6 separate regions of the Homo sapiens genome follow, and all the other regions are linked to region 6. The links are contacts of gene promoters, found by promoter capture Hi-C in blood cells and fetal thymus (Javierre and others, 2016). All regions are on one chromosome and are shown on one strand. Each heading gives the region's core, a stretch centred on a gene start or on the middle of the fragment in contact. The rest is flanking DNA. Distances are from core to core; before and after follow the strand shown. Region 1 overlaps ICA1 (islet cell autoantigen 1). Region 2 overlaps ICA1-AS1 (ICA1 antisense RNA 1). Region 3 overlaps ICA1 (islet cell autoantigen 1). Region 4 holds the start of LOC124901585 (a long non-coding RNA gene). Region 5 overlaps LOC105375138 (a long non-coding RNA gene). Region 6 holds the start of COL28A1 (collagen type XXVIII alpha 1 chain).

Region 1 (3,751 bases), core at 464-2,963, 700 kb after region 6:
GGAGGCTGAGGTGGGCAGATCATGAGGTCAAGAGATCGAGACCATCCTGGCCAACATGGTGAAACCCCGTCTGTACTAAAAATACAAAAATTAGCCAGGCGTGGTGGCACATGCCTGTAATCCCAGCTACTCGGGAGGCTGAGGCAGGAGAATCACTTGAACCAGGGAGGCGGAGGTTGCAGTGAGCTGAGATTGCACCACTGAACTCCAGCCTGGGTGACAGAGTGAGACTCCATCTCAAAAAAAAAAAATGTATTATTATAATTAATTGTGCATTTGAAAAATATGTAACACATTTGTTTTTCATGATACAAATTAAAGAAAATAAAAGTTCACAAAGATCTGCTTGCTTGGTGGGTCATGGGTTCAAAAGAATTTGGAAACACTGCTTGAAGAGCTCTGGACCTTACAAGAGGTTTAACATGCTGCTCAGATATGTTATAGGCACATAAATGTCAGCGCTAACATTGCCAAATGGTTACCACATCTACTTTATTCAGCATCATTTACTTTTGACAATAATTGGCTCCTGAATGTTCAGGAAGGTTGAAGTCATGACTCTAAATTAATAAGCACGAGTCGTGTGTGGTTGTAGAATCATTCTTTATTTTATAGCTACCCTAACATAAAATTCCCTTGTAACTCTAATGTTAGAAGTTATAAATAAGATAGTAATAAAAACGCATCAACTCATTACATTAGACAAAATGGTGGTAAGAAAAACTATCAGTAGGTTCCCAAGAGAAAAGTTACACATAAATGAATTTCTTAGAGAATGCACATTAGGTAAGAATTTACAATATTTTTGTTACTTGGTTTTCACACCATATTTAACAGAGATACTGAATTTGGCTCAGCATTGGTGAGGGCTAACATGATACTTACTGCCAATGTATCTCTTGTTTTTCCATTCAATAGATGTTTATTGATCATATGCTATATGCTTTCTACTTTCCCAATTCAGAAAAGATGACAAATTACTTACCATTTGTGTCCTGACATGTTTTCTTCTTCTTCTATTGTTGATGATTTGGGGAGAAGGGGCAGGAAAAAAGCATGAGAGGATAAGTTATATTATAACCTGAAATAAAACAAATATGTTTAATAGTTACACACCATATTATAGTTACATATTAATGTGACACACATAAAAGCCTTCAACCTAAGCCATTTCTAGCTGTATTTTAGGGTCTAACACTGTTACACAGTAATGCTGCACACTGGTGATGACAACAATATAGCTAAGTAACACTGGAAGAAATATTCCAAATAAAGTTTAAAAAGTGAACAGGCAGATTGAATGAAAAAGCAGGTTGCAGAAGACTACATAAAATATAATATCATTTATATAAAGCTTAAAAATATGTAAAACAATACTATATGTTGTTGAGGTATACAATATTATAAGGTGAAGGTATAAAGAATTGCTTAGGAATGATGAACACTAAGTTCCAGACAGCAGACCACGGCAGGAGATGGTGTGGGATGTGATGTGAGAGAGATATACAGCAGCTTCAAGTGCACACATAGTGTTCTCTTTGTGAAGCTAGGTGGTGAATATATTGCATCTGTATGCCTCCTTACAGATTTGAAATATTTTATAATCAACATTTTTAAAGAAACAAACCAGCACATTGCAAAAATAGAAACAAAAATAGAACAAAATTTTAAAACCCCAAATAAAAACCAAAAAAGGGTTGATATGCTTGAATAAGATAGCAAGAAGGGCACAAAGGTGGAAAATAGGTATCTACCAGCCTAGCCTTGTATATTTATCTCGTTAGTAAATACTGGAGTCAATGTCTCTGCCCTTACTCCATTTGCTCCACTCATGGAAGCTAGCCCACCCCAGGGCCCACCAGCCCAGCCACATTAGCCCACTTGCCAGCAGTTACTGGAAAGAACAGAAAGCTCACTACTCAAAGGAATGGTCACTGGCCAGAGGCAAAACCTCTAGCTGCCAGAGTGAGTGCTCACAGCATATGAATGCCCAGACTGCTTCACAAAATCAATCCAATCATTCTCCTTTGGTCTCAGAAAGGATCCTGGCAACCAGTACTCCTAAAGTGATTAAAGCTTTCCTAGGCTATTTAAAAACATTTCAAGGGGACAAAATTACGATGTGCAAATCCCACGCTTCAGGTATGCAGACAAGAGAGAGGAAGAAGAGAATTTCCAGAGTGTCAGATGCCTCTGATATGACAGCATCCTGCAGTGAACATCTCTCTTCCTTGTGGAGAGCATCCAAATATCTGGACGAGCTGCTTTTGGGAATGACATTCAGGGTAAGTAAGTAAGCTCTGCCCTCCACTCAGTGCATCATGGAGAGGCTACCAACACCCAGTCCTCTCACCACCCAGACAGCTTCACTGTAAGTACACATTTACTTTAGTTAGCTTGAAATTTCCAACAAATTTTTTCATAAAAAGAGGGTGTTCAAAGGAAATGGAATTATCATATTCTTCTCTTGAGTTCAATGTCACCATGAACTATTAGGATAGTTGGTACTTTTTGATTAATATTTTTATTATGGTAAAAAAGTTTATTCTTTTAATTTAAAAGTGTACAGTATAGTAGTGCTAACAATATACACTTTGTTGTACAACAGATCTCTAGAACTTTTTCATCTTGCATGATGGAAATTCTACACCCATTGAACAACTCCCCATTTTCCCCTCCCACAGCCCCCAGCAACCACTATTCTAGTTTCTGATTCTATGAATTTGACTACTTTAGATACCTCATAAAAATGCAAACACTCAGTATTTGTGTTCTTGTGATTGGCTTATTTCACTTAGCATAATGCATTTAAGGTTCATCTGTGTTGTAGTATATGACAGGACTTCCTTTTTAAGGCTGAATGATATTGCATTGTATATGCAATGTTGAAGACAGACACACACACACACACACACACACACACACACACCATTTTCTTTAACCATTCATGTGTCAATGGATATTTAGGTTGCTTTCACATCTTGGCTATTGGGAATAATGCTGCAATAAACACAGTATACAGTGTCAAATTCATTGACAGGTTCTTGGAAGCTGCAACTATAGGCAAAGTGATATACACAGGTCCAGAATAACACTGTTTCATAATAATATTGATAAGAAAAAAATGGCTTATGTCGTTTTGCCTAAAGTTGCAGTTTCCAAGAACTATCAATGACATTAAATGAGGTCTTAATGTATCTCTCTGAGATCCTGTATTCAATTCTTTTGCACAAATACACAGAATTTGGACTGCTGGATTATACAGTTCTCTACTTAATTTTTTGAGGAAACTGCCTATTGTTTTCCACAGCAGCTGCACCATTTCAAGCCCACTGATGGTATGCAAGGGTCCCACTTTCTCCACATCCTTGTTAATGTTTGTTTCCATTTTTAAAAATAATAGCCATCCGAAGCATTGTGAGGTGATATCTCATGGTTTTGGTTTACAGTTCTCTGATTAGTGATGTTGTGCATCTTTTCATATTTTTTTGCCATTTGTATATTTTCTTTGGAGAAATGTCTATGCAGGTCTTTTGCCCATTTTTAAATTGGGTCATTTTGTTATTGACCCAACTTAATTTGCAGGAGTTATTGCAGGAGTTCTCTATATATTCCAGATATTGATCCCTTATCCAATATATGGTTTGCAAATATTTTCTCATATTCTGTAGGTTAGCTTTTCACTCTGTTGACTATTTCCTTTACTATGACTTTTTAATTAATTTTTGCTTATTAAAATGCCTTTTAATTT
Region 2 (3,750 bases), core at 5-2,504, 780 kb after region 6:
CTGGGTTAAATGGTATTTCTGTCTTCAGGTCTTTGAGGAATCGCCACACTGTCTTCCACGATCTGTATCTTTTAAGTGGAGAATTTAGAACATTTACATTCAACATTAATATTGAGATGTGAAGTACTGTTCCAATCATCGTGTTGATTGTTACTTAGTGAAGTTGTTTTCTTCATTGTGTTCTTGTTTTATAAGCCCTGTGAATTTTATGCTTTGAAGAGTTTCTATTCTGATGTGTATTGACCTTTTGTCTCAAGATTTAGAACTCCTTTTAGCATTTCTTGTAGGGCTGGTTTAGTATTGACAAACTCCCTTAGCATTTGCTTGTCTGAGAAAGATTTTATTTCTCTTTCATTTATGAAACTTAGTTTTGCTAGATACAAAATTTTTGGCTGAGAGTTATTCTGTTTAAAGGGACTAAAGATAAGACCCCAATCCCTTCTGGCTTGTAAAGTTTCTGCTGCAAAGTCTGCTGTTAGTCTGATAGGTTTTCCTTTACAGGTTACCTGATGCATTTGTTTCACTGCTCCTGGAATTCTTTCCTTTACGTTGACTTTAGATACCCTGATGACCAGATACCTTCTTGATGTACTTTTTGCAATCAGTCTCCCAGGAATTATTTGAGCTTCTTGAATTTGGATGTCTAAGTCTCTAGCAAGACCAGGGAAGTTTTCCTTAGTTATTCCCTCAAATAGGTTTTCCAAACTTTTTGCTTTTTCTTCTCCATCAGGAACACAGAATTCTTATGTTTGGCAGTTTTACATAATCCCATATTTCTTGGAGACTTCTTTTATTTTGTTGCATTCTTTTTTTGCTATTTTTGTCTTGTTGGATTACTTCAAATACCTTGTGTTTAAGCTTTGAAATTCTTTCTCCTAATTGGTTGACTCTATTGTTAAAACTTTCGACAGTATTTTGTAGTTCCTTAAATGTGTCTTTCATTTCTGGAAGTTCTGATTGGCTTTTCTTTAAAATATCTATCTCTTTAGAAAATTTTTTATTCATATCCTGAATTGTTTATTACATTTCTGTACGTTGGGTTTCACCTTTCTCTTGTATCTCCTTGAGTAACTTAGTAATCAACCTTTTGAATTCCTTATCTGGTATTTCAAAGATTTTATCTTGGTTTGGATCCAATGCTGGAAAGTTGGTGTGATATTTTGGGGCTGTTAAAGAACCCTGTTTTTTCATATTGCTAGAATTGCTTTTCTGGTTCCTTCTCATTTAGGTAGACTATTTCTTCTAATTATTTTTGAATTTATTTTTGATTCAATGGTTTTTTAAAATTTCATTTATTTCTTCTTGAAGATGTGACTTTAATGTTTATAGTTTATTGTTACCTAGCTTTGGCTGTGGGTGCTTTGAGTGTTAAAGCCTCTGTATGAATTATTTTATTATAGGGAATCTTTGTGCGATGGCTTTCTCAGATGCTGATGGTCTTACCAGCCCTATAAGAGATGTTAAAAGGAGTTCTAAATCTTGAGACAAAGGTCAGTATGCATCAGAATAGACACTCCTCAAAGCATAAAAATCACACAGCCTATAAAGCGAGAGCACAATGAAGAAAACAAGTTCACTAGATTAGTAATGATGTGCTGGGTATGGGAGCAGGTTTTCTGTTTTCTGTGGGGCTGGAATGCAGAGGTCTCATGAAGCTTATCTCATTTTCCAGTGGCGTGCACTTTAAAAAAGCTTTCCTCCCAGGATTTTATTCACTGGGTTAAATGGTTCAGGCTTCGGGCCAGTAGGAGATGCTCATGGGGAAAAACTGGCTTTGGCTAAAGCAGGTGGGTAAATGCAATACCCTAATATTGGGCAGACGTCCCAGCTTTGACAGAGGTGGTTGGGTGAACTCTCAGTAAAAATGCACTGAAGTCTTTTCAGAGGGAGGGGAGGGAGCCACCACAGCTTTCCTTCCAGACCAGCAGGAAAGCAATCTGCCTTCCAGTCATACTCCTGACCTGGTGTTCTGGCTATACAGATCAGACAGGCATCTCTTTTTATCTGCAAGAATGCTGATGCTTCATTTAGAGAGAGATTGTGACTCTACCTCTCATGCAAGCCTGAACCTGGAGGGCATTCCTTCTCTGGGGATACAGTCACCCTGAAGTTCCAGAAAGGCTGCCTACAGATGCACTCATGCTGGGATTCCATGGGAGAAGCCCTAGTTGTGTCTACAGTGGTGAGTAAAAGGGAGGAGTCCCCTCTCCAAGACCCTTCACAAGCACCAGGGCTACCTGACTACTGGAGTAGAGCTGCAGAGTTTCCCCACTGAGCCCAGCATTGCACCTGTGCCTCTGCTGAAGAAAACATCCCACAGGTGGAAAGTTCAGGGACTGAAGGCTTGCAGTCCAGTATCTTTTGTCCCATGCTCCCTTAATGTGATACACTCCCTCTTCCCCTAAGTGTAGCAGTCCCTGAGGACCAGAGTACTGTGAATCCTTTTGCTCCTCTGGGTCTAGCTGCCCAGTGGGGCTGCCACACTCTAGGCTCCAGTGATGTGACTTATCCTCTAGTCTCTAAGCAGCAAATACCAGCACCAGCTCTGGTAGTGGTGGGAGGGGAGTGATGTAAACTGTGAGATTTCCTTGGTTATAAATGGCTTTAGTGTGTTGAGTTTTTCAAATGCCAGCTGTAGTCCTAACTTACTAGGCACACGGACAAACTCAAGCCTTCCTGGTTAGCGAGAGTGATGCAGGCAGTGAGGATAGATGAGGCCATGCAAAAGTTTTCTCCTTTCTGATTGCTGTGTTATTGTGCCTGTAGCTGCTGTCATGGGCTGTGCTGGTTGACCACCAGCCAGAAGGCGGTGCTTGCAAAAGAGCACCAGCTTGATGGTAGCAGTAGAATTTGTGCTTGGTTTATGTTATCCAGGAGAGGTATTCTGATGTCTCAGGTAATGGGTGGTGCCATGGAGCTCCCAAATGTCTTATTCTGTTGTGTTAGGCTACCAGGGCAGGTGGAAGGACAAATCTGGGTGTGGGCTGGGTCAGGTAAGTTTGTGCTCTGGGTCCCTATGTGGAGATTGAAGAGCAGTTCCCTGGCCATTGGGGTAATGTTCCAGGGAGGAGTGCAGCTGCCTCTGCTGCACAAAAAAATCTGCATGGGGAATGGGCAGGTAGCAGGTGGCAGTAAGCTTCACTCCACTCCCACACCGTTGGCAAGGCAGGTCTCGCACCCACAGTGTTCTTTTAGGAGCAGCTAGCTGGGTTTTAGGCAGCCTGCACTCAGAACTCAAAACTTCCCCAGGCCACAAGCCTTCCTGACAGAGACAGATACTGTGTGGCTTTCAGGCCACACCTCTCCTGGTCCACCTGTGAAGAAGAGGTATCCAGCTCCTGCATCTGTGACTATAGTACTCTTCCCACTCACCCCTCAGTCTGGCCAATGGGATTTGTGCCTACTCAAGATTCTATTGCAAATCTCAGTTGAAAGCGTCTCCCAACTGTGACCACTGTCTGAGTTAGCTGGTAGGCTTCTGTGAGGTCCCTTGTGAGGTTAGGATCAAGAGTGGCTTCCCATCATCCCCACTGCAGTCTGGGACTGCATGCTAAGCATGTCCTGATACTGCTCCTTCTCATATATTCCCCATCACTCACTAAATCAGCTCCAGCGCTGGGCAGGGTCAAGGCCTTCACCCTTGGCTGGGTAGGGGTAAGGTGCTCCCCCTTGGCCTGGATTGCCCAGCTGCCCTGTGGGAGCGTGTCACAGTAGCAGTCTCTCTCCCTCTCATGCTCTACAGACTCAACA
Region 3 (3,948 bases), core at 281-2,780, 650 kb after region 6:
CTTATGGGACCACCATCATAAAATGTCATTATATGGTACTTGACTGTGTCTCCATTTTTCAGATGAAGACACTGAAATATTCAGAAGTTAAGAAACCTGCCTGAGATTATACTGCTACGAAGTGGGGAAGCCACAGTTTGAACCCAGGAGATGCTCACTGCAGAGACTGAGTTCCTCACCAAGGCACCAGGCTGTTTCTTACGCTAAAGGCATCCTAAGGGAACATAATGGAATGGGGATTGGAAAAACTCTTAGATAATGTTTTCTTGGGGTGTTTTGTTATTTATATGAAAAGAAAAGATTTTCCAGTTATAATTATCAAACTGCTTTCATAGAACCAAAATAAATAAGATACTTTGAGAGTACAGGAAAGTTATATAAGTTCACATTGCATAATGACACACTTATTTGGTTTCTAAGTTTCATCATTTCTACGCTGAAAATCTCTCATCTTTTCCCTCCTCTCCATTCTTGTAGCATCCTACACAGAGCTACCAAAATTAACTCTCCTCAAAACTGCTCTTCCATGGTCGCTTCCTTGCCCAGGAACCTTCATACCGACATAATTTCATAATGTCCGATATCAAGGCACAGAGTCAAGATTCCAACCTGAACCACTCTGTTATGCCACCTTCCAAATGACAGGTGACTTCTTTGAATCACTTCGATTGTTACTATTTTAAAAGTGAGTGTGGAGTAAGGGTGGAAGCCTAGAAGGGATTTTTGGTAGAATTATAATTAGGGCATTATAAATATAGGACAGCAAGAGGTAGCTGGGACTTCAGAAATATTTTGGGAGGTAAGGAATATTTTAAACTTGGGAGTACCAGAGTTGCTGCCAATCCTGCCTCTCTTCAGGGCAGGGAAGGCCCCAAGGAGAGCAAGAGAGAACCTTTTTTGGCCATGGCTCCCTAGGGCAGAGAAGAAGCAAGCATTCAGGGCAGTACTTACAGGAATCAAGACTATGGTTTGGTGGGAGCATCCCTGTATTCTATCTTTCAGTGACGCAAAGAGGAGGGCAAGACTTTCCTTGATGAGGCCAGGGGACCATGCCAAACTGTTAGGATGGTAGATGCAGAAGCTATGCTTCCCAGTGAACCAGATTTGATACCCTGGGAGAGGAGTCAATTAAAATAGAAATCAGGGGAGTGAGCCCGCGAGCCAACCCCTCTGCAAAGACTTCATCTGATTCAGACCCTCCTGAGCTTTTACAGAACCCAGTGCCCATTGCAATCATAGCACTTATGAACATTCACTTAAAGATCTGTCTCCCCAAGTAAACACTGCACCCTGTGAGTGCTGGGATCTGTATTATTTGACTGTATTCCCACCAAGCCCAGAGCCTGCACAAAGCATGTGCCCTGAGTAAAATGCCTCTGAATGAATAAAATGAGGGTAGAGCTTTGATCAATTGGGGTCATTATACTAGAAGGAGGCTTATAACTCATTTAGTACAATCCTATTGTCTTACAGATGATGTGATACACAGAGGTTAAAGGGCTTACTAAGGTCCTATGTTGGGTTTAGTGCTAGAGCTGGACCCAGAACCCAGAACACACAGGCGGATTCTTTCGCCTCCTCGCTCTGCTAGGGGCATGAAGACAGAAGACAGCCCCCACAGTCATTCTAACATTTGTTGGCTGGCTATTGGGAATGCAGAATACATTTTCCCATGGAGGCAGGTTTTTTCTTCTTCTTTTTTTTAAATGGTGGTTCGGTTCCCAGGCCAGGCCACAAAAGCCTATTTACCCCATAGCTGAGCTCAACTATAAAACCAGCGGTAGCTCTGAGGCCTCACTGAACCCCCAGCTCCGAGCCTGCAGTCCGAGGGGCAGGTGGGCAGCTGGCTCTGCAAGGGGGGTAGGCAGCGCTCCCTTGAGCAGACCAGGAGTGTGGGGAGGGGGCTGGGCAGGGGGGCTGGGCAGGGGGCCCAGGCAGCAGCTGCAGGAGCCTACAGCAGCCTCTGAATGCCTTGGTGGTTCTTAAGTGGATTGTTTGTAAGTTGGGAACTGTCTGTACTTAGAAAGGCGGATTTCAAGAGGTAGGGGATCCTATTTCACTTGAAGGCCCACAGTAATGAGGGTTCTTTATTCGTAATGAAGTAAGCCACTAATTGGAGGGACGGGCTCAGGAGGCCTGGTGGAATTTTGTACTCCTGGACCAGAACTGAGTAATATTATGCAGTAGCCTGGCAACCCTTTACTTTTGCACAAAATTCATATAAAAATCTACCATGAAGTGCCTGTCTGACATTCACTGTGTTTATTATTAATAATGATAATAACAGGGTAGCTTATACACAGCCTTAAGGCTAAGAAAGTAAATTGAATTCTCAGTTTCTTCCAGTTTTTTTTTTTTCCGCAGTCAGATTAGGAACATTTGGAAAGTCCTTACTCTCCGAGTGGGCTGAAACCTTTCATATTTACCCAGAGGAGACATGGCTGTAGTTTCTAAGGACTCATCCAAGAGATGATCTCTTTCCTTCCTCTGCCTCCTCAGAGAGGCAGAAACATTCCATAAACTCACAAATGTTGTAAAAGTAAATGTACAAAAAAATAATATTAATGGAACTGAAAACGTTACAGTAGAGAAATCAATTATAATAAGGTAATACAGTTAGCTCTTCTGGACTTAATGAAATGTGTTCAACTGCATTGGAATGTTCTGGTGCCCCCTGCAGGATTCTAACACCTCACAGAAATGGTTTAGTACCAATTCAGATGGCTTAGAAAACCCTACAGAGGCAATGTGTTTCTTTTCTCAGGTTCAAATCAACTTAACCTGGCTCAATCACATGCAGAGGGACAAAGCAGGAACTCAATCTAACATTTAAAAGGTTTTTAGCCACCATAAGTTTGTCATTAGAATGGAGGTTTTTGGATCAACAACAGAAACTATTTTTGGTTTGTGAAGTTTATAAATCTAACAGTGCAAAGTTCACGGTTACATGTGTGATCTCTCAATTTTTCTGGGCTGAGTGTTTAGGGAACAAGGAAGTTTGCTTCCATGAGCCTTGCTTTGACTTAGTGCAGAAAAATTAAACATTCTGGAAAGTTAAACATTTAGCTTCTAAATTTTTACTGCCCTGGAATTCCTCAGGAACATGACTCCAGTATGATAATGAACAAATGGTCATCAGAGTTGTTTATTCCATAGTTACAGGTCAGCAGATGTGAGGAACCATCGTCTGACTCCAATAAGCTTTTAAGATGATAGCTGTCCATCGTTCCTGCCCTCCACTTTATACGAGAGTAACTGAAATCACTATTTTGATGTATAATGTCCCTGCTATCATCTAGTCTTAGGTAATTTATCTGAAAGACATTGACCAGGTCTCACTGAATTTGCAAAGAATCATGCTGGCACATAATTCTAATTATATCACAATAGCTACAACATAAATACAGTATTGTAATATTGTACAGACAGTCCTGGATTTGCCATGGTTTGATTTATGATTGTTTGACTTAGAGTTTTTGACTTTGCCAAGATGCAAAAGCAACATGTATTCAGCAGAAACTGTACTTCAAGTACGCAAACAACCACTCTGTTTTTCATTGTCAGTACAGTGTTCAATAAATTACTGTGAAATATTAAGCACTGTAGTATAGTATAGGTTTTGTGTTAGATGATTTTGCCCCACTGTAGGCTAATGTAGGCATTCTGAAAACATTTAAGGTAGCCTGTGGTAAGCTATGCTGTTTGGTAGGTTTGGTGTATTAAATGCATTTCCGATTAGGATATTTTCAACTTGATGGGTTTACTGGGGCATAACTCCATTGTAAGTCAAGAAGCATCTGTATATATGTGTTATATAATACATATTGCCTATAGTAATATTACATATTATTATAATATTGTATAATATTATAACACAATATAAACCTCTACTAATGTCACTTTTTTCAGTGCCATTCCTTCTTTCATATACTGGATGTTTAATTTCTT
Region 4 (3,720 bases), core at 557-3,056, 530 kb before region 6:
TCACCCCCAGCAGCCCAGCTGTAAAATTCCTTTCTTTGTAGTGTCTCTCTTTATTTCTCAGCTGCCTGACACTTATAGAAAATAGAAAGAACCTACATTGAAATATTGGGGGCAGGTTCCACCTATACTTCTTTCATGGATTTACTTATTTTTTGTTTGTCCCCCTGTGTATCCTAGAAACTCCTGGAGGGCAGAGGCATGCCTGCCATCTTCATCATTGCATTACCACCACCCAACACTATTGGGGGACCTGCCCCGATAATCATGTAGGTTCTTTTCTACTTTCCTAAGCGTCAACTGGCTTGAGAAATAAAAGGACAGAGTACAAAAGAGAGAAATTTTAAAGCTGGGCGTCCGGGGGAGACATCACACATTGGTAGGATCCGTGATGCCCCACAAGCCACAAAAACCAGCAAGTTTTTATTAGGGAGTTTCAAAAGGGGAGGCAGTATACGAATAGGTGTGGGTGACAGACATCAAGTACTTAACAGGATAATAGAATATCACAAGGCAAGTGGAGACAGGGCGAGACCACAGGACATTTAGCCCCCCAGCTCTCTTACCTCAAAGCTTGTCTCCTGAAGGCCACAGCTTCTGTCAACTGACCCTTTCCACACCTCCTTTTCTTCAGATTCCAGGAACTGCTCCCTATCCAGCTACTCTATCACAATGCTACTTGCTTTCTCACTCTAGGATCTGTTAAAACAAAAAGTGAGTCTGGGTGCATGGTTCACGCCTGTAATTCCAGCACTTTGGGAGGCCAAGGCAAGAGGGTGGCTTGAGGCCAGGAGTTCAAGACCAGCCTGCTCAACATAGTGAGATTCTCCCCCCACTCCCATCTCTGGTCTCACACACATACACATGGGCACAAATTAAATTTTATCTAAAAATTTAAAAATTGTTTTAAAATTGAAATAGTTACATGGATTATGTATATATTCATTTTGTAAAACTATAGATCTCATGGAAATGGGAACTCTTTACTCTTCCAGCAAAACATTTTTTTAGCCACAAATAAAAGAAGACCAGTGATTTAGCCTGTACACACAAAAAAGACATAAGAAAATACTGCTAAGGCTGGGGCAGGGGTGGGGGAAAGAGATCTAAAAAATTCAAATTTTACTGGGAAGGACCACTAATTAGAATCAGAATAATTACTGTTTTAAAGCATTTAAGAATAGAGCACAATGAACCCCGGGAAGAAATAGATATGATTCAGAGTCGAGCTCACAGAGCAGATGGTACCTCAGCTGAGACTGATAGAATAACATTAATAAGGGCATTCACTGCCATTTATTATCTCCTAACTGCAATGCATTTTGTATAAGTTATTTGTACTCTTCACATCAACCATGGAAAATAATAATTATTCTTATCTTTTGACGTTAAGGAAGTGGTAAGTGGTGTAAGAAGATAAATTAACATGCCAACACCAAACAGCTCAAGTTCGATAACTCAGGAGTGCCCGTGTCTCCCCAAGAGGTTGCTTAGCAGGCAGACCAGGTAGAGAGAGCCCTTCCAAGAAGTGGCAGTGAGATGTGAAACGTCTCAGTGTGTCTCTAAGAACAACAGAAACCAGTACGTAGACCAAGTGGGAAAAGCCAAGGAAGAGGCAGGAATTTCCTCTTAAGATAGCAAGAAGAATAAACAAGAGCAGGACTGAGGGAAGCCATGGGAAATGGGCAAAATACCATGCATTAAGCGAGAAAAAACAACTTTTACTTTAGAATAGGAAAGGGGGAAGGAATGGTGGTAGTCTAGGTAAGCCTAGAAGAGTAAAGGGCAGCAGAGAAAAAATTAGTTGTACTAGGGTTCTCCAGAGGGACAGAATCAATTGGATACATGTATATGAAAAAGGGAGTTTATTAGAGAGAATCGGTTCACAGGATTACAAGGCAAAGTCCCACAATAGGCTGTCTGCAAGCTGGGGAAAGAGAGAAGCTGGTGGTGGCTCAGTCCAAGTCCAAAAGCCTCAAAACCAGGGAAGCCCACAGTGCAAACTTCAGTCTCAGGCTCAGGGCCTGAGAGCCTCGGGGAAGCTGCTGGTGCAAGTCCCAGAGTCCAAAGGCAGAAGAACCTGGAGTCTGATGTCCAAGTGAAGGGGTGGGTTGCCCCTCCACACCTGTGGGTGTTTTAATTAGGTGAAACGAGAGACCTGGAAAAGAAAGAGACACAGAGACAAAGTATAGAGAAAGAAAAAGGGAGCCCAGGGGACCGGCGTTCAGCACACGGAGGATCCCACTGGCCTCTGAGTTCCCTTAGTATTTATTGATCATTATTGGGTGTTTCTCAGAGAGGGGGATGTGGCAGGGTCATAGGATAATAGTGGAGAGAAGGACAGCAGGTAAACACGTGAACAAAGGTCTCAGCATCATAAACAAGGTAAAGAATTAAGTGCTGTGCTTCAGAGATACATACACATAAACATCTCAATGCCTTAAAGAGCAGTATTGCTGTCCACAGGTCCCATCTCCAGCCCTAAGGTGGTTTTCACCTATCTCAGTAGATGGAATATACAATCGGGTTTTACACCGAGACATTCCATTGCCCAGGGACGGGAAGGAGACAGATGCCTTCCTCTTGTCTCAACTGCAAAGAGGCGTTCCTTCCTCTTACTAATCCTCCTCAGCACAGACCCTTTACGGGTGTCGGGCTGGGGGACAGTCAGGTCTTTCTCTTCCCACGAGGCCATATTTCAGACTATCACATGGGGAGAAACCTTGGACAATACCTGGCTTTCCTAGGCAGAGGTCCCTGTGGCCTTCCGCAGTGTTTTGTGTCCCTGGGTACTTGAGATTAGGGAGTGGTGATGACTCTTAACAGGCATGCTGCCTTCAAGCATTTGTTTAACAAAGAACATCCTGCATAACCCTAAATCCATTTAACCCTGAGTTGTTGACACAGCACATGTCTCAGGGAACACAGGTTTGGGGGTAGGGTTACAGATTAAAATGGAGTCTCTTATGTCTACTTTGTATACAGACACATTAACAATCTGATCTCTCTTTCTTTTTCCCACATCCAAGGTCAGGAGGAATGGAAGCAAGCTTCCTGCATGGGAAGAAGAAAAAAAGGCTTCTGGCAGAAGCCTCCACTAGCAAGCCTATCCCACCTTCCTCCGCCTGCTTTGTTCTAGCTGCTCTGGCAGCTGATTGACTGGTGCCCACCCACCTTGAGGGTGGGTCTTCCTTCCCAGTCCACCAACTCAAATGTCAGTCTCCTCTGGCAACACCCTCACAAACACACTCAGGAACAATACTCTAGGCAGCTGTCAATCCAATCAAGTTGACACCTAATTTTAACCAACATACAAGATTTATAAGCTAAGTATGTCAATGATGATAAATAAGTGTTGTGGAGAAAAGCAGAGCAGAGAGGAGAAAAGGAATGCAGAGAAGGGTTTACAAGTTTTAGAAGAATTCATACTTACAGGCCCCTGTTTTCCATAAAAAACAGGAGGCTCATCTTCTGCAGGTACTGAAGGGCTTGGGATGTTGTGAGGGTGAACTTGAAAATAACAGACAAATATCAGAGTTAATGAGGGGAAAAAGAAAAGATGAGTGGGCATCATGGTGGTCCAGCAAAGGAGGAAAACCCAAGCATGAATGTGGACTGGCACCATCAGAGAGGGCAGAGCCTCCAATAACATGGGGCAGTCTGAGAGCCAGAGTCAAGACGTGGGGGAAATGGATCCAGGTTCTGTGTTTGGCACAGTGTGTG
Region 5 (3,512 bases), core at 242-2,741, 520 kb before region 6:
CCTGATGCCCAGCCACAATGGCTATTAGTAAAAAGCCAAAAAACAACAGATGCTGATGCGGCTACACAGAAAACGGAACGCTTATACATTGTTGGTGGGAAGGTAAATTAGTTCAGCCACTGTGGAAAGCAGTTTGGTGATTTCTCAAAGAACTTATATCAGAATTGCCACCTGACCCAGCAATCTCATTATTGGGTATATAACCAAAGGAATATAAATCATTCCACCATAAAGACATATGCACACCTATGTTCATTGCAGCACTATTTGCAATAGCAAAGACATGGAATCCACCTAAATGTCCATCAGTGATAGACTGTATAAAGATAATGTGGTACATGTTTACAGTGGAATACTATGCAGCCACAAAAATAATGAGCTATGTCCTTTGTAGCAACATGGATCAACATGGATGCAGCTGGAGGCCATTATCCTAAGCAAACTAACAGACAGGAACAGAAAACCAAATACCCCACGTTCTCATTTATAAGTGGAAGTTAAATGTTGAGTACATATAGATACAAAGAGGGGAACTATAGACATCGGGGCCTACTTGAGGATGGAGGGTGAGAGGAAGTTGAGAATTGAAAAACTACCTATCAGGTACTATGCTCATTACCCGGGTGATGAAATAATTTGTACACCAACCACCCCTCCATTGCAACATGCAATTTACCTATTTAACAAACCTGCACATGTGCCCCTGAACCTAAAATAAAAGTTTAGAAAATAAAATAAAGTAGTTGTGAAACTCTTTAAAAGAAAAAAAGGGTCCCCAAGCACAGCTCAGCATCCCTTTGTTTCCTGATGGGAGGTGGGCAGTGGGGATATGAACTTTCCGGGGTGACTGAGGCTCTTCAGTGAAGCAGGGTGCTATGAGATCTGGAGGAGAGAGGCTATATAGGAACAGCCAGGGTGCAGCAGACAACACTCCAATGCTCGGTTGTCTTCAGCTTTCCCTCTGACCTCCTCCCCTCACACCTCCTGCCACCCACCCCACCTCCCCCACAACCCATCTTCCCCGCCACCTCCAAGTCCACTTGTAACTGGCATATGAATGTAGACTGGGCAGTACCTCATTTCTGAAAGGGCTTGCTGCTTCCAGGAAGATTTCACCTAAGGCAAAATCTTACTAGATTTGCAAGCAAAGAGCAAACAACCCCATTAAAAATTGGGCAAAGAACATGAACAGTCACTTCAAAAACAGACATTGGTGCAGCCAACAAGCTTGTAAAAAAATGTTCAACATTACTAACCATTAGAGATACGAAAATCAAAACCACAATGAGATATCATCTCATACCAGTCAAAAGAAAACATGCGGGGAGAAAGGGAATCAGGTGGCAGAAATAAAGGGAAGTATTAAACCTACATCTATGAGCCAGAGAGAAAAAAAAAGACTGAATTTTAATAAAAAAAAAAATGTTCTTACTAGGTTCTTCATTTCACAGGGTAGGAGAAAGAACCTCATCTCTGACTATTTGGAGTTTTCCCAGTTTGCTATTATCCAAGAGAAGATGCTTTTGGATTTTTTTGTATTTCTTTTAGGGATGTAATCACTACTTGTTATTATCCTCCTCTACATTTCATTTCTCCCTCCTCCTTTTGATTGTAAACTCTGACTTTTCAGATCAACTCAAACACTCCCTGGCTGAGTTGTTACCACATAAATACCTGTTGAATTACTAAGTGATTAGTTGAAGTGGAAAATGTAAGAATCGTAGAGTGTTCTGCTTTTACTATAAAAGATTTGATGAAGCTTTTCTTGTGGTTCCTAGGAAAATACATTCTTTTTTTTTGAAGCTTCCACCTCTCTCACAGCTGATGTCCCAGCTTATAAGATTGGAAACTGAGTTGAGATATGAGTCTCCAACTAGGCCGTGAGGTCCTACTGGCCCCTTCAAGCCATGTTAACAATGCCAGGTTAGGAGACTAGAATATTGAGGTCTAGTCCCAGATGCATATAGTAGTATATTACTATACTGTATATTAAGGCTTCACCTGAATGCCTCTTTTGGAAGTTAATAAGAGACCACAGGGAATTTTTAATTACTTTAATTGAGCTTTTTAGAATGTGGAATTTATTCCATTCCAGTTTCAAAAAGACTCTAGTGTCAGTATCCCAATCTTCCCCCACACCAATTACCTATTTCCACTCTGTAACTGATACATTACCAAAGTTTATTATGCAGAATTAACATGACCTAGCTGCAAGGTCCACAGCCAGAAAACAGACATGTCGAAGAGTATTAGTTAAAATGAGAGCTTTTACATAACAATAATCAAATCGGTATGTAGTTATGAATGAGTATCTTTTTTAATGTCAAAAAATTGAGCAGACTCATAAGACAATCGTTGTGCATTAAGTTACCCATTGAGAAAAAATAATTGATTACTTTTTTCCTTTTTTTTGAGACAGGGTCTTGCTCTGTCACCCAGGGTGGAGTGCGGTGGCATGATCTCAGCTCACTGCAGCCTTGACATCCCAGGCTCAGGCGATCCTCCCACCTCAGCTTCCCCAGTAGCTGGGACTACAGGCCTGTGCCACCACGCCCAGCTAATTTTTTGTATTTTTTGTAGAGACAGGGTTTTGTCATATTGCCCAGGCTGGTCTTGAACTCCTGGGCTCAAGCAATCTTCCTGCCTCAGTCTTTCAAAGTGCTGGGATTCCAGATGTGAGCCACCAAACCAGGTGAATAACTCATTTTTAATTTAATGAATTTATTTAAAATTTAGTAAAGATTTTGAAACTTGTTTTCTTCAGCATAAGAAGTATCTACATATATCTTAAAATGTAATTATTCACATATGTTCATGATGTGTCTGACAGGCAAGGAAGGCACGGCCATTTATGTCTCTATAAATCCTCTAAGAACACAAGAAATCCTCTAAGAACACAAATGACTCTGGAGGTGACAAGGCCCATTGGAGATTTTTAGGTGGAGTGGAATGATGACATTGATTTTTTGAAAAGCTAACCTTGACAGCTGTAGGGAGAACCAACTGCAGTTGGGAACTCAGCAGCCCAGAGGTCAATTAGGAAGCAGAGGGGAATGCCGGCTGCGCTGGGATGCAGAGACGCCTCTGTGGTGACTTGGAGACCAACGGAAATTACAATGAGGGAGAGAGAAAATCCAAAGTGTTCTTAAGGGGTGGATTAAAGGAGAAAGCATGATAAGAAATAAGAAATATCAGAGAAGGAGGTGTTGAAATAGGGACAATTGAAGGGTAGAAAAGGGGTTGAAAGGAGGGACAAGTAATATGAATTTAGTTTAATACCTACTAAGGCAGAAGTACCTGAGCTACATCCAGTGGGTAGTTGGATGTCAGTCTAAAACCAAGGAGATCTGAGTTAGAGGTTTAGAAGATAATGAAATATAGTCGTTATAACAACAGCTTCAAAGTCAAATAGACAATGGGTTCAATCAAAGTTCTGCCACGGGATTAGACAAAATTTGGGGTCTTACTGAGCATACACTTCTTCATTTTAGAATGAAGATGGTAATTCTCAG
Region 6 (3,943 bases), core at 854-3,353:
AACTGACAGATTTCCCTGGGAGGAGAAGACTCATGTGTTGCTGCCTCAGTATACCCAAGAGAATGGGAACGAGAAAGCTTATTTCGAATCAATACTTAGTATGGCTTAAAAATGCTTGCCTGCTGAAACTTTATTGACTTCAGGAGTTCTGGAAAAGGAATCACATTTTCCTTCTTTGGCACCTTGCCTTTAGGGGATAAGAATCTGGGAAATCATGAGCACGATTTTTCCAGACTCTGAGTAGAGAGTGGAAATATATGCAAAGGCAGTGAGGAGTGAGATGGAGACTGACTTTTTTCATACATGCCAGATGGATAAACCCCAAAGGGAAACAAAACTGTTGGGTTAGGAGAGGACCAATGGATGGCTTCATGCCACAGTCTGCTCCTCACATAGCATCATCCAGCTGGAAGTGTATTAAAAGAACTTTGGATAGGTATGACCAAACATCTTGTGTAGCAATTGGCCAAATGCCAACTGATCCTCAGACAAGGTATACTAAAATGTAAAGACAGCTGGGTATTAAAAACAAAACAAAACCAAGAAATGTGCTAAGGAAACAGAACACACAAAGGCCATCTCTCCTCAAGTTGTCCCTTTGCTAACCAAGGAAAAAAATAAATGATGTACAACTTTAAGTCTGAAGGTTAGTGTAAAGATAAGGCTATGTGAAAAACACAGTTGTTATTGCATTTTCAAAGGGGAAAGGGAATAACACCATGGCCATGGTATTACATATGACTTTTCTCTTTGGTTGAGTTCATACCATAAGGAACATCTCAGAAGTTCTGGAAATAAGAGGCTGAGAACTGAATTCCATTGAGAACTGAGCAAGATTTTATAAGCAACATAATCAAGCAACTCTTCAAAACCCTTCATGTAAGGTTTTAGAAATACTGGCTTTAAATAAAGATTTATCTTTTCCCAAAACTAAGCACCTGCTCTTACTGTTTTCTTGGCATATAATCATGAATTTGTACCTGATCCCTGTATATATGATATTCACAAACATAACTTTTCCATTGACAATAATCCCAGTATCTCATATTTTGTTCTTATTTGCTCTGACATTGTTAATCTAGCTCTCCCAAACCAAAGTCTTGTTATTTCTTTCTGTTTCCCTATTGTAGCCAGAGGACATTTTCATACCTCTCTAGATTTGTTTCTCTAGCTTGTTAGTTCTACTGCTTCCCTGAAATATCTTTCTCGTTTATTAATTTGGCATCTTGAGAGCCCACTCATTTCTAATCACTTTTTACCATGTTTTATTTTGCCTCTGTTTTTAATAATTCTCACCTTTCTCTCTTTCTGATGTCACGTACAAGCAAAATAGGTTTCAGAGGAAACAGTGCCATTAGTTAAGTGAAAGAAATGTGAACCTCTGTGTTTACTATAGGTTACATTTTATAAATGCAGAAACAATCATAATTATTAATCAAATACCGTAGTTTTACTTTTGGCCTAAAATTTATTTGGGGTAAATATCAGGATCAGTAAATAAATCCAAGATACTTTATTTTTTATAATTTTTCAAAAATAAAATGATCTTATATCAGAGTTCACCAACTTTAGTTACAATGTTTGCATCTCAGTTTCTACACAAATAGAAAATGATTGAATAAAGACTTTATTCAAATTGACAAATTAGCCAAGTTGTAAAGTATTCTATAACTAATTCTGAATTGTAAACCCTGTTCCAAATTAAGAAAAAGATGTCCTAAAATATATTAACATCGTTGTAAAACAATTTAGAAGACTGTAAATTAAAAATCCATTTCAAAATAATTTTAAGTTTTAAATTTCTACATTTTAACAATGTTAATATTTTTCTAATAATTGATTTGAAGTAATTGCAGAGAATACAAACTATTGACAAGCTTTCTCACCTAATAATTATGTAAGTAAGTCATTTAGTCTTCCACAGTTCCTTGATGGTCCTATCTGATTTCAAGTGACTAAAATAAATCTGTTATGTCTTACCTTATAAAGTTTGTCAAACAGGAATTAAAGACTAGTTGAGTAAATGCCAACAGCAAGGACTGTGGTTGGGGGTGAAGTTAGCTATTTGATATTGTTCTGTTCTGTGGGAAATAAAAGTGTCTTTGCTTTAGGATCTTTTGCAGTCTTTTGTTCATGTTTATTCGACTAAGTCAAAGCAAGAGTGGTCAGGCATTTGGCCAGGGTGCAAGATCTGGGTGGGATCAGTAAGCAATTTAAAGGAACAGTGTCCTTTCAGAATGAGACTGTGTTTTCCAGACTATTGTAAAAACAACTTGAGAGAACTTTCTACATTTTAGGCATTGGTTGACAGCCTGCCTTTTTTTCTCATGCTATGTCCTTCTCTTTTTATTGCTACATTTCTTTGCCTGGGGGATGTGCTCTAAGATACTGGTTCTGAACATCTCTGTGAAGGAGTATAAATGACACCAGACTCAGAATCAAAGCTGTTTTTTTAAGAGAGGTAACAGTTTGATTGTTATTAAAGCTGGATGATGAGTACATAGGTGTGCATTGTTCTAGTCTTTGTATTTCTGTGATTTTTGAAATTTTTTATAATAAAAGGTATATATAATATACAGGGAAAGAGTGGTCTGAGTATAGTCATAGTTCTGCCCCTAACTTTTATGGGGGCTTCAGTTCCCCACTTATGAAATGAGAGAGTAGATTTAATCATTTATTAAGATGTGTTCGAACTGTAACATGAGAGGTTTACAGCGGTTAATATTTTGGTCTCTCTCTAGGAAAGGATCACTGTGGTTTTTCCACTCCCTGTTTCCCTATTTTCTACCTTGTGGTTATGGTCCATATTAAGTCAATGTTTATCATGTAATATATACTGCCAAGAAGCCACCTGACCCCTAGACAGCTAACAGGCAGGCTTCTCCACGGACTTCCTCTGAAATAGAGAATAGCAAGATCATCCGAGAAAGCAATACAAATGTGCATGTTACGGTTATTTAAAATGAACTTTCTTAGCCATTTTAATGTGTATGAATTTCCTTATTACAGCAATAATAGCCTCCAATTCATGGACACTTACCAGGTGCTAGGCACTGTCCTGAGTGCTTCACACACATTACCTCATTTAATCCTTCACAAGCACAACCACCTATATACAGTAAGTCCTCACTTAATGTCCTCTGTAGGTTCTGGAAACTGTGACATAAAGTGAAACAATTGATAATGAAGACAATTTTCCCAAGAGCTAATTGATATAAATAAGAGTTAAGCTCTTATGGCATATTCCTAGTCACAAAAACATCACTAAACCTCTAAATACTCAAAACACCTCTAATAATAAACATTGAAATAAATCTAAGCTATATATACATTTATGAAAGATTGATAAAAACAAGATAACTGCTTACCTGCATATTCCAGTTCAGGGTCACGGTTGACCAGATCCTGTCCCAGCAGCTGAGGATACAAGGCAGGAACCAGCCCTGGACAGGATGCAGTACTGTCAAAGGGCACTCATACACCCACCCACTCTCTCAGACAGGCACCATGTAGACACACCAATGCATCTAATGGGCAAAGCTTTGGGATGTGGGAGGAAACTCCAGGACCTGGAGAAAACCCACACAGACATGGGGAAAACATGTCAACTCCACACAGTGAGCCTGGCCCAGGAATTGAATTTTTTTTCTCATCAATGTTATAACAAAATGACATTGAACAAAATATTATTCCAGGACCCCTTGTACTTAGTAGATGTTGTAAGAATTCGAATTTTTCCAAGATGGAGGCAGAGAGAGGTTCAGTAACTTGTCCGCTGTCATACTAAAACCAGAGAATGGCAAAATGAACTTTTAACTCAGGCTGGTAAGACCTGTGAGCCTCACTTATAACAACTACTGCATCATTAAGTATCTATGCGAACGTCTGTGTTTTCACTGTCTCCTCCTCACAAAACAGGTTTCGAGGAACTGAGGAAGTTTTG

What was found. Contacts are between HindIII fragments. The CHiCAGO score rates a contact against its expected background, and 5 or more counts as called.
Region 1: a contact is called between a fragment that was not itself captured here and the fragment with the promoter of COL28A1 in region 6, in 2 of 17 cell types (non-activated CD4 T cells and total CD8 T cells). The highest score is 7.7, in non-activated CD4 T cells.
Region 2: a fragment that was not itself captured here is called in contact with the fragment with the promoter of COL28A1 in region 6 in 1 of 17 cell types (fetal thymus); the score reaches 5.9 in fetal thymus.
Region 3: a fragment that was not itself captured here is called in contact with the fragment with the promoter of COL28A1 in region 6 in 1 of 17 cell types (total B cells); the score reaches 5.1 in total B cells.
Region 4: a fragment that was not itself captured here is called in contact with the fragment with the promoter of COL28A1 in region 6 in 1 of 17 cell types (megakaryocytes); the score reaches 7.6 in megakaryocytes.
Region 5: a contact is called between a fragment that was not itself captured here and the fragment with the promoter of COL28A1 in region 6, in 10 of 17 cell types (total CD4 T cells, M1 macrophages, total B cells and 7 more). The highest score is 10.0, in total CD4 T cells.

Annotation. Positions count from the first base shown.
Region 1 is chr7:8,234,925-8,238,675 of GRCh38, forward strand. ICA1 (islet cell autoantigen 1) reads right to left here. Exons shown (of 14, transcript NM_001136020.3): 2 at 986-1,081. The coding sequence starts at 1,002. Among named protein-coding and RNA genes, the nearest start is that of ICA1, 25 kb to the right of the region's middle. The HindIII fragment of the contact is 722 bases long and covers 1,353-2,074 here.
Region 2 is chr7:8,312,821-8,316,570 of GRCh38, forward strand. All of the region lies in intron 3 of ICA1-AS1 (ICA1 antisense RNA 1), which reads left to right. Among named protein-coding and RNA genes, the nearest start is that of ICA1-AS1, 52 kb to the left of the region's middle. The HindIII fragment of the contact is 797 bases long and covers 857-1,653 here.
Region 3 is chr7:8,187,873-8,191,820 of GRCh38, forward strand. The region is part of intron 6 of ICA1 (islet cell autoantigen 1); the gene reads right to left. Among named protein-coding and RNA genes, the nearest start is that of ICA1, 72 kb to the right of the region's middle. The HindIII fragment of the contact is 3,337 bases long and covers 1-3,199 here.
Region 4 is chr7:6,999,681-7,003,400 of GRCh38, forward strand. The region is part of intron 1 of LOC105375138 (a long non-coding RNA gene); the gene reads left to right. It overlaps LOC124901585 (a long non-coding RNA gene), which reads right to left and starts at 3,508. Exons shown (of 2, transcript XR_007060204.1): 1 at 3,431-3,508; 2 at 1,848-2,155. RefSeq lists an enhancer at 2,443-3,081. The HindIII fragment of the contact is 2,477 bases long and covers 569-3,045 here.
Region 5 is chr7:7,016,832-7,020,343 of GRCh38, forward strand. All of the region lies in intron 1 of LOC105375138 (a long non-coding RNA gene), which reads left to right. Among named protein-coding and RNA genes, the nearest start is that of MIR3683, 48 kb to the right of the region's middle. The HindIII fragment of the contact is 532 bases long and covers 1,226-1,757 here.
Region 6 is chr7:7,533,770-7,537,712 of GRCh38, forward strand. COL28A1 (collagen type XXVIII alpha 1 chain) reads right to left here and starts at 2,104. Exons shown (of 35, transcript NM_001037763.3): 1 at 1,981-2,104. The HindIII fragment of the contact is 1,663 bases long and covers 1,876-3,538 here.